2 separate regions of the Homo sapiens genome follow, and region 2 is linked to region 1. Evidence: promoter capture Hi-C in human tissues and cell types (Jung and others, 2019). All regions are on one chromosome and are shown on one strand. Each heading gives the region's core, a stretch centred on a gene start or on the middle of the fragment in contact. The rest is flanking DNA. Distances are from core to core; before and after follow the strand shown. Region 1 holds the start of MMP16 (matrix metallopeptidase 16). Region 2 has its middle 120 kb from the start of DCAF4L2.

Region 1 (5,784 bases), core at 1,248-3,747:
GCAGTGCTCAACTTGCACTCCATGTCCTTGATACAGTCTTCTAATATTTGGCTCAGTTAGCAAGGACATCACCATTTAGCACTGTTTTCTCATGAACGTCTTTGGTAAATAATTTTTACCTCCTCCTCTTCAATAGTATCTCAAAGACTAGGAACTGAGTTTAAACATTTTTTTTGTATCATTTTCCCTCTCTAATTTTGCACTTTACTAGATATAATGCACACATAAAAATCATTCTTGATTTATTGACAAATACTTCACTACATTTCGTTACCTTATATTGGCACAGAACACCATATAAATTCTATATAATGACATTACTTTCATGTTGCCTTCTAGCTGTTTCTTTTATAAAAAATCATCTCAACCTATGGATTATAAAATTGCTAAGAGCAGGAATGAATTTCCATTTGGAAAGTCACTGGAGTATAGCAGGAAAATCACTGAACTGGGAGTCAGGAAACAAAAGTCTGAACTCTGCCACTTGTATGGTTTGCTGGAACGTTATATTTTATTGCTATCATTTACTTCATCTGTAAAATAAAAACAAAATCCTCAGAGATGGTGTGAGAATTAAATGAGATACTATGTCTGGAAACATTCTGAATATTCTAATGTACTATACAATATAAGACATTGCTTTTTATTACATCTTCAAAATTATTTTGTGGGCAGCACATGCTGGGCACAAGGCAGACTGTCAGGAAGGTCTCCCTGAGAACTTCTTGGGTCTTGGGTCAAGTTGGGTGGGCATTTCTTACATTTTTACAGCAACAGCTGCAAAGTCCCATTCCTCAGCCTTTTTTTCTTTTATTGGATAAAAGTTATTGCAGTCTAATACAATTTTTGGCAAACCATTCTCAGAATTTTCCATCTGCTTACCACATAGGACCTCTTGTAGTCCTGCTTCTTGCCTTTCCAACTCACCCATGAAATTTGCCTTGTCAATTCTCTCTTCCACCTCACCGAGGTAGCTGTCATACCTGGAACACTCTTTATTCTTAACCTCGCCTGCTTTTCTTTCCCGTGGGCTCCTCTTCCCCTCTGCTGGCTGCCAAGGAGAAGCACATTTACTGGCATTAGCCCCCAAACAGATGCTTGCCTCGCTCCCTTCCCCCTTCCTCTTTCAGCCAAACCATCACTTGCCAAGGGCTGGTGGTTGCTGCCCCCCCTGTCCACTGCCTCGCACTGCTACAGCTCCAGTCCTTTCTGGCAGCCTCCTCTGAAGTTCCCTGCCCGCGTTCGCCCGTGCTTCTTGCCAGCCGCCTCCCCCTCTTGCCTGCAGCTCTCCTAGCTCCCGCCAGCCTCTCCCCCGCTCGGTCTGCGAGCAGCCTCTTCCTCCCGCCCTTGCCAGCTGCTTTACTCGCCTTTCCTCAGGCTGCTTCTTCTCCTTCTTTCCCCAACCCTTCCCCTGGCTCCCGCAGCCGGTTTCTTTCCAGCGCCCCCATCCCTCTCATCGGATGTTTTGTTAACACCCAGGACCATCTCTCCCGGGTCCCACTGTGCGCGTGTGTCCACCGTTCACTTGGAAAGTGAGCGTTTTCATCCCGCTTCTGTATTTGTCTAGTCCGCCACCAAAACCCTGTGCCTACTCCTCAAGCCTGGAAGGCGGAATGTAGCTATGGTAGAGGGGATTCAGGAAGACACCAGGCCACAGGCTCGGGACCCCAACAAAGTTTTGGACGTTCGGGATTTGCTATCTCAGTCTTCCCAAACTTGGTCAGCCCCGGCCACCGACCCGAGCCACCCAGGGGCGCTCAGTGACCAGGCGCTCCTCTGATTCCCAGCGCCCCTATTCTTCCAGGGCCGCTTCCTCAGGAATGCCGACCGCTCTCCAGGACCAGGGTTGGGCCGCTCCCCAGGCCCCACTAGGGTCCGCAGCCTGAGCCCCACCCAGCTCATGGCTGGAGAGGGGCGCACTCGTTTTTAGATGCGAGGCGGCAGGGTGGGCGGGAAGAAAGAATGGAGCCGCCCAAGTTCCTGGGTGCCTGCCTCGGGGATGCGGGATGGGAGATACTGTCGAAGAGCTGTGCTCAAACCAGGGCCCTTGTCGCGGGCTGGATACCTCCGGTGCGCCCTACCGTAGTGGGGAATCCTTTATGAGCCGTCTCCTTTAAGAAGCGCGCGTGCGTGTGTGTCGGGCTGTGTGTATGCGCGCGTGTGTGTGTGTGTGTCGCGGTGTGTCTCTGTGTGTGTGTGTGTGTGTGTGTGTGTGCGCGCGCGCGCGCGCGCCAAGGGCCCCGAGAGCCAGGCAGACCCCGGGAAGGAGGAGTTATGTAGATTACGGATGAACATTCTGGAGGGGAGCGAGGAGAGGAGGGAAGGAGAAGCAGAGGCGAGAGAGTGAGGAGCGGCGGAGGCCCTTCCCGCAGGAGCTGGGGGCGGCGGCGGCGGCGGAGGAGGAGGAGGAGTAGGCAGTGCAGGAGGAGGACGCACGGGCTGGAGGCGGCGGCGGCGGCGGCGGCTGCTGCTGCTGCGGCTGCGACTAGGCTCTTTGAGCCGGAACCGCCGGTGAACTTAGGCGCCACGTTCCCGGTGACTGACCCCGGAGGATGGTGAACAGGAACTACTGCTGACCCTGTCTTCGCCGCTGCCTCTCGGGGGCTGCCGAGCGCGGGGCCCCTGTCTCCTCCCCTTGCCCGGCTGTGGGTGAACCTGCAGGCTCCTTACCCACCCGGAGGACTTTTTTTTGAAAGGAAACGAGGGAGGGAGGGAGAGGGAGAGAGGGAGAAAACGAAGGGGAGCTCGTCCATCCATTGAAGCACAGTTCACTATGATCTTACTCACATTCAGCACTGGAAGACGGTTGGATTTCGTGCATCATTCGGGGGTGTTTTTCTTGCAAACCTTGCTTTGGATTTTATGTGCTACAGTCTGCGGAACGGAGCAGTATTTCAATGTGGAGGTAAGAGTGCGAGGGCTTTCTTCCTCCCCCCGCTGCCTGGGCTGCTCCCTGAAACATTTCCTTCACTCCTGGGATCCTTGTAGCTCAGAGCAGCCTGGGTCCCAGCACGTTGTTTCCCTTCCAGCTGTGGAGACCCTGGTTCAGTTTAAGGGTGTTTTAGGTGACGGATGCGTGTGAGACCCAGAATCCGTTATCCCCGGCAGCACAAAGCACGATGCTGCGCGCTCAAAGACACAATTGTAGCCGGTCCATGCTTTTCACCCAGGGAAGAGAAGTCCTACATATAGCAACCGTGTAGCTAAATAAGGCAGCTTGAGTTTATGATGGATAAACAGCTCGGGGAAGACAGAATTAATTCCCTGGCATCATGTGCTGCCTAGGTATTGTTCCTGAAATCTTTCTCCCAGTGTTTGGTGCCTAACAAAGGAGGTTAAAAATCAAAGAATCTAGAGGAGAGCGTGGGAACACTAGATGTGTTTAATAACATTACTTTGTGATAAAACACTTGAGAATCTTTTTTTTTTTCATTTAGACATAACTTAATACACTGTAACTAGATCTGGCTACACAGAGGACATGAAATCCATCTCTTTTTAAGTGTCTTCTTTCCCCCTCCCCCGCCAATTGAAAATAAACGTGGCCCAATGTAATAGTTTTGAGGTGTGTTTTTAATTTGATTTCACACTCTCGTGGCAAAACGGGGAGGTTTTAGACTGTCATTTGCTTTACTTTGATAGCTTTGGGAACAGACGGCACAAAGCAAAAGGGAACTTAAGGATAGGGACTTGTCAGACCTCTGCCAAAGTACTCTTCCTGTCATCAAGTCAGCACTGAAGCCAGTAATGTGCAATAAATCAATGAAAGCGTGTATACACCTGGGCTGTAACACAACTTTATCACATATACGGTGGGATACAAAGCCAGTAAGAGGGTCTTAGTAACATTTACTTCTTTTGATTAGATCTGATGTCCTCTGAACTCTCAAACGAATTATGAATAATTTTTTAAGGAATAATGTGATTTTTTTTCTTATATTGTTGATATTATGAAGCTTATTGTCATTTTGCTGGGAGTGTGTGTTTACACAATAGCAAGACCTGTTGCACAGTATTTGAACATGCTTCATGTAACCAATTGATACACAGAGTGTGCATAATAAATGCCATGTGTAAAGGCATATTCTGAATATAACTGTGTTTATAGAAACTGTTCTTAGGACTTCATGTAATAAGTCATGGTTAGTACAAAAAAAGTATTTGAAAAAGTAAGAGCTATTATCAAGAGTTAAAGACCTTCACAGATATTAAGTATGAATAAATTACACAAAAAAAACCCAATTTGAAAACTAAAAAGGTTTAACCCTTTGAAAAATACAACTTTATTTTTCTAGATAAAAAGAGAAAGGGGCTTGAAAGTCCAGACTTTTTTTATTGCAAATTTGAACTTTTGGAATTACGTGCCACAGATGGATTTTTGTACCTAACATTTAAATCAAGAGATAATTTAATGTTGAAATGAAGGATTAGTTCATAGGCTGGAGGAATTAAAGTGGCAAGCTGTTATTTATAATGTTATAAACAGAAGGGCCTATTGCTTCAGGTTGGTGGTGATGGTGGTGAGGTGGAGTGTGTGGGAGGTGGTAAAAGTAAGTGCAAGGTTGTGTCTTTCTGAATAAGGGAAGGGAAGGACAGCCTGGATTGATGGTTACCTGCTTTAGGAAAGTATTAGATTTGCTTTCAGAGGTTAGGATAACATGAGTTTTGATGATTATTAGATTTTTTGTGAGACTAAACATAAAAGATTGTATTTCTTTATATTGGAATCCCTCAGTAAGTTCAGATATTATTATGCAAAAAAGTTATGATTGTACTAACAAATTTTATTTAATTTTGGATTCCAATGACCCCTTCTCTTTCTTCATTAAGATGTGTGGGGAAAAATGGTTTATGGAGAAAATAGTTATTTTCCCATTTTTAGAGGATTTAAATTATTCTAGTCATATTTATTACACAGATTTAAGCCTGACAGATAAGTCATGTGCCATCTCAGACCTTTAAAATCTTGCTTAATAAAATGGGAAGTTTTTCATGGTTTAGAGCAGATTATATGCCTTAGTTTATGTTATCCTCAAATAGTATTTTTAAGCTCTTGAGCTCATTTTGGTTGGATTTATAAGCTTCTTTATGTGTAATGATACCCCCCCTTTTTTTTAGATTGTAGGAGTAGCTGCTAGTGAAATGGAAATATTGTCAAGAACACAGAATGACGGGATGTTTTCTGACATAAATTTCTGCCTGATTCACTTCTATTTGACTTTTTTTTGATAGGAAACACTAATGGGAAGAATGGTCCATCACTTCCTCTCCAGAAGAGGCACTTACATTGTGTTCCTCATTCTGGTTGCAAAACATACACACTGGGAATGTTTTATTTGATTGATTCTCAAGGATAGTCTTAAAATAAACAGTAATGATATCAGTCATGCATGAAGCTCATATGATCATAAAATTTTTTTTCAGTAAGCACAGAAAGTTTTTATAGTTGGAACAAAGCTTCAGGGGGATGCTTTTTATGCTGACAACTAAGATTACATTGCTTTATTCATCACTAAACTTAACAATTTGTGGTCCCCCCATTCTTTTTTATCTCTGTGATTTAAGGTTTAAGACTGTATATTTTTCCCAGGGAAGTGGGGGATTTGAAGAGGGTGGTTGGCTAGAGGTATTCATGTTAACTCTTTCCTGTCTGATTTTTAAGGGTATAAATATTTGGAGTTGTCAATTATCGAAGTGAGAGATATTTTTAATATGGTGATGAAATCCTGTTACAGAAAGAGAGTGCATTTGGTTTTGCTTGGTTAGCTTGTTTTTTAAGAAGCA
Region 2 (5,784 bases), core at 1,420-3,919, 330 kb after region 1:
AAGTCACAATCATACTTATGGACAGATTTTTCCACTTCTGAGAAAAGAATGATACTATACTATGATCCATGAGATTAAACAAGAATATGTGTTTATTTTCAGGGAACAGGTAAGCTATGAAAGAAAAAAATCCAGATTGATGATTAGTTAATTTAATTAAATTTATCTACATCCACTGGACTTTTTTTTAAATTTTTATTTTCCTGAAGTACTACATAATTGTCAATGGACTTTCGTTTTTTTTTTTTTTTTAATTGTTGTTGTTTGTTTGTTTTTTGAGATGGAGTCTCGCTCTGTCACCCAGGCTGGAGTGCAATCTCATGATCTTGGCTCACTGCAACCTCCGCCTCCTGGGTTCAAGTGATTCTCCTGCCTCAGCCTCCCAAGTAGCTGGGATTATAGACACGTGCCACCATGCTCAGTTAATTTTTGTATTTTTAGTAGTGACGGGGTTTCACCATGTTGGTCAGGCTGGTCTCGAACTCCTGATCTCCTGATCTGCCCACCTTGGCCTCCCAAACTGCTGGGATTACAGGCGTGAGCCACTGCCCCCGGCCTCATTGTTTTTTGTTTGCTTGTTTGTTTTTGCTTTGAGATGGAGTCTGGCTCTGTTGCCCAGGCTGGAGTGCAGTGGAGTGATCTCGGCTCACTGCAACCTCCGCCTCCTGGGTTCCAGTGATCCTCCTGCCTCAGCCTCCTGGGTAGCTGGGACTACAGGCGCCCACCACCATGCCCGGCTAATTTTGTATTTTTAGTAGAGACGGAGTTTCGTCATGTTGGCCAGGTTGGTCTTGAACTCCTGACCTCAGGTGATCCACCCGCCTCCACTTCCCAAAGTGCTGGGATTACAGGCGTGAGCCAACATGTCCGACCAGACTTTCATTGTTTTAGTCATACTCTTTTGTCCAGTATATTTTTAATTTAAAAAATATGCAAAATCCCATTAAGAGTGATCAGCTGGGCAAAGTTTGCCGGCCCAAATAAGGCTTCAAAATATGACCATAGTTTTACATGTATTGTGGTGGAATTAACTGATACAATCAGTTACAGACAGTAGTAATACCAACTAATTAGGGGATATTAAATAAGAAACCACAGATTGAAGCTTTTTTACTTGAGTTCTTGAACTGTCTAAATGATGAGAGGAGGTATGGCAGAGGTATTTGTGGGTCACTGTCATCAAACTCTACTTACTTCGATTTTTTTATGGAGGTGATTTTAAGCAGAATCATTGAAGATACAAGTAATTTTTATGATGTAGAAGGACAAATTCTTAAGTAAGCTGAGACAAGGTGAATAGATTAAAACACACACACACAAACACACACACACAAACAGGAAATTAGAGAAGGGGGCCATCATGAGACTTCTCAATACCTGTGCCTGAACCCTTAGTCAGGCAGTGAACCTTTGAGTATAAGGCTCAGTAGACAATTTTAAACAGGCCTTAGAAAGACATAATCTCCCCCAGAGAGTTTATCTCAACTAATAGGCTTTTTAATTTCAGAACATCTCAGAAAAAGTAAAGGTTGAAGACCTCTCTTCAGATATCAGATTAAATGGAGAGATTGCTATCCTAGAGTTGGAGAAAACCCTAAAAATGATTTCTAGAAGCTATTATAGAGGCTTTAGGCTCTGACTAGGTGCCCAGGACTGACTTTTGTGAAATATTAAAGAATGGGTTTTCTTGAGGTTTCAGAAAACTTGGTATGAGCTCAGGGAAAATTTTTCAATCCGTGTGGTTACTGAGATGTGTTAGAGGATCAATGATTACCAAAATAGTAGAGAAAAGTAAGAGGAAAAGATTAGGCTGCATGGAAGATACAATTCCATGAGCTACAGTGAAGGAATATGTACAAATTTGCCACATTTGAGTGCAACAACGAGGGCCAGCTGCAAAATTCTATGTTTTTAGACCTAATTCTGATGGAAAAGAAAGCTGAGGAAGAATTTAGGGAAGACTGTGTTTTAGATTCCCTTAGGAAAATTAACATCTTTTTATAACGAATTCAGGTGGATCCTTACTTTTGGGATATTTTAGTGAGCTTCTTGGAATTGTGTGCATCTGATTATAAGCAAAATATTTTAATAGTTTATTTATTTGAAGGAACAAGGGAAAAGCCTCACTTAAAATAGCTTTTAAAAAATAGTTTGATTTAGGTATTAGATATAAAAGTTTTTGAAATAATAGAGAATGTATTTATTTTAATATGTATGTTTTGTCCTCTAAGTCTGAGAGGTGGATCATGTTGGTAAGTGAGCAAGTGATGTAACTATAGAAATCTCTTGCAGTTTTTTTTGATTAGTGCATCCTCCAAGATAGAATATGGTATAAAAAAGATATTGCCTCCAATTCTCCTGTGTTTTGTATGTTACATATTCAAGACTACATGGAATAAATGCGCATTGTAAGAACATGCAAAATGGTACTAAATTTTGCACATGGTATGTGGAATATGGAAGGCTAGATATCAATAACTGCTTTTTAAACAATGCTTTTTAAAATTTTTGACAACACTTAAAATGAAAATGTTAAAAGAACAAAAAAACCCACCTCTTTAGCATTGTAATATTGCTTTTGCTTTTATTGTTTCAAGGTAATCTTTAGTTACCTTCCTTACCCACGTACATATTTTATTTTATTTTATTATGTATTATTATTATTATTATTATCTGAGTCGGAGTCTTGCTCTGTCTCCCAGGCTGGAGTGTGGTGGAGCGATCTTGGCTCACTGCAACCTCCACCTCCTGGGTTCAAGTGATTCTACTGCCTCAGCTTCCCTAGTAGCTGAGATTACAGGTAGCCACCACAATGCCCAGCTAATTTTTGTATTTTTAATAAAGGTGGGGTTTTGCCATGATGGCTAGGCTGGTCTCAAACTCCTGGCCTCAGGTGATCCACCCACCTCGGCCTCCCAAAGTGCTGGGATTACAGGCGTGAGCCACCACACCCGGCCCCAGATACATATTTTAAACAGTACCTTATATTTTTAAAGTCTTTACATCTTCAGTAAGTCAGTGTAGATGTACTTTCCTGATCAATTTTTTGTTGCTAAATCGTTTGTCTCTTTTCCCACCCTTGACATTACAAAAGAAGAAGAGGAGAAGGAGTAGGAAGAGGAGGAGGAGGGGGGAGAGGGAGGAGGCAGAAGAGGGAAAAAACTTATAGTTTATGTCTTCTTAAACTTTTTTCTTTTTTTGAATAAATCTTCCTTTGAATTAATGACTTGGAATTAAGTTACTGGTCAACAATTTTAGATTTGTTGTTTCTTGTCATGTCTGCCCAGGGAGATATTATACACTTAGTGTCCGGTATATTTTACTCATATACAGATATTTTAGACTATTTTAGATCAAAGTATGCTTGATGTTTAAATGGAAATATTAACAGCAAGTCTCAGTAGCTGTCATTTCTGAACATAAGCTGAAATTAACCTCCATTGATTAAGTCAGTATATTTAGAAGAGTGACCACATCAGATAAATTAGAGCAGTTTCCCCCACCCTCCAAACCAGGTGATCTAGTCAAGAGTAGGCTTTGGAATTAGACAAACTAGGGTCACATCCAGATGTGTGCACCTATGTGGTTTTCCTCTTCCTCATTAAGAATAAAAGGATAACAGTATGTATGTCCTATGGCTGTGGTTAGAATGCCATGAAATGAGGGCAAAATAATTGAGAGCAGCGACTGACGTGGAGCAGGGGCTTCATAAACGGAAGACCTTTGTGCTCTTCCTGGAGATCATGGAAATTTATTTAGGGTCAAACTGAAATCCAGTATGCATTGATTTCTGGGATTATAAAGTACTTAGTTGGCCCGTATTATATAGATAACAAGCGTGTTCAAGAGAGTTACATTTCTCTGATTATCTAATGGTTTGTTACCAATTCCTGATTTACTTTTGTAAAAGAGATGAGACAGTGTGTGCAGTTATGAACTAACGAGTGCAGGCATGAGTTTAATCATATTGTTTCTTTGTATCTGACACTTATCCATACTTTTGTGCACAGGTGGGTGTCTAAGCCCCTGTAAAACAATGTGCATTTTCTGGACAAATAGTCTTATTGCTCAAATTAAAGAAAAAAAAGAGCTCCAAATATTTGCAGTTTTATGTTTGACAAAGAAGCCAAAAATATTTGCCAGTTTGAAGAGTGTGCTATGCTTTGAGTGGAAAGTGCTAATTAGAAAACTGTTAGGTTATTTGAATGTGGAAAAACACAGACTGACCCCTACGAAAGGGTCACAGTTTAAAAAGGACTTGCATGATTTGCCTTTGAAGAAAGCACATTTATTTCTCTGGTACCTAGAGTCACAGAAGTAGGCCTAGGAAGAAAGAGAAAACTAGTAATGGCAAAGGATATCAGACATCAAACAAATATACACATTTGTACTGGAGTATATCGTTTTCCCTGTTCTCAAAATAGCTGAAATAGTATCATTAGGAACTTAATCTCTCCTGGGTAGAACACTGGCATCGCCTCACAAGATCATTTCCTGAAGGTTTGAGGAAAGCTCAAGCTTTATGATGTCATGGGCAGTTGAGGAGACCATTTTTTCTTTTCTAGCATAAAAATCATCATTTGAAAATATTTTAAATTTTTGTTAAATCAAAGATGGGCTCTATGAACATCCTAGTCACAAAGACAACTGTTAAGATTGTCAGAAATTCTAGATGTTTCATGCTGCCTAACCATTGCACAGCATTTATGCTTGTCTCTTTTTATCCTGTTGCCTTCACATTTCTTGCCCTATCATTATGTATGTTAAGAATTTTTTAAAAGAGAGAAAAATCACATAAACTTCACATTTCCTCAAAGATTGGAAAGAGGAAACAACCAACCAATTAACAGTACCCCAATATTAAATCACACCAAGAACCTTCACTATACAACCCATAGAATTGGTAAAAGGGTTTGTTTAACTTCCCAGATTTTTTAATTATGTGAACGCAAAGAAGACAATTAAATACCTTGTAACACATTTTGTTCAGGCAAAGTATCTGTGATTCACACACACCTGACTTTTCATTTGGACAACTGAGGGCACCCACGAAGTTTCACAGCTCATAAAGAGAGCAATCAGAGGATGCAAAGAAAAAAAGTTAAAAGGATGTAACTCAAAATTTTATTTTTCTCTATTGCCTATATATTTCTTTTAATTTTTTCAAAAAACTCACTGGAATCATCAAGCTTAACTGGACAAGGGTTAAGAATGGAATATGTAGTCACATACATGAAGACATCTTTTAGCCTCCCTCTTTTGATGCCCTTCAACTATCAATGTGACAAAAGTAGGGAGTACGTATCTGAGAAGCCCAGAAAAAGAAATAAAAATGTGAAAACAGTTTATACATTACATTAGATTAAGCAGGATAGCAGGATAAGCATTGAAACATAATTGTGTCACCATAAAGCCTTTTGAAAACTGACAATCCTTCAGTGAAAGTAATAAAGCATTCAAATACTTGAATGTAATCATAACCCCTATCATGGAGAGAGTTCCACTAGGCAGTGCTAGTACCTGATTTCTCCTGCCCCCACTGCCACAGCTGTAAGAGGCATTCGAACCTGAGCAACTCCATTTTGAGAGAGGGCTAGAAATAATGAGATTGAGAGCTGCTAGGCGGCATTCTCAGAAAGTGAGGCATTCCTAGCTTCTAGATGTTTACAGTTAACGGAACAAATTAATAATGTTTGCTAAACAGACCCAGACTTGGGAGTGTCCAGATATCCTGATATCTGGAGAACAAAGGTACTCCTAATTTTCCTTTAAAGATAATAATAT

Evidence for each region. The method cuts DNA at HindIII sites, captures the fragments that hold promoters and counts their contacts. A contact is called where the count stands out against the background at its distance.
Region 2: a fragment that was not itself captured here is called in contact with the fragment with the promoter of MMP16 in region 1 in 1 of the 25 tissues and cell types used here (dorsolateral prefrontal cortex).

What each region holds. Positions count from the first base shown.
Region 1 is chr8:88,324,196-88,329,979 of GRCh38, reverse strand. It overlaps MMP16 (matrix metallopeptidase 16), which reads left to right and starts at 2,497. Exons shown (of 10, transcript NM_005941.5): 1 at 2,497-2,905. The coding sequence starts at 2,774. LOC105375630 (a long non-coding RNA gene) reads right to left here and starts at 2,136. Exons shown (of 8, transcript XR_001745653.3): 1 at 2,082-2,136; 2 at 883-1,051. The HindIII fragment of the contact is 8,411 bases long and covers 1-4,519 here.
Region 2 is chr8:87,989,883-87,995,666 of GRCh38, reverse strand. No RefSeq gene overlaps it. Among named protein-coding and RNA genes, the nearest start is that of DCAF4L2, 120 kb to the right of the region's middle. The HindIII fragment of the contact is 4,371 bases long and covers 484-4,854 here.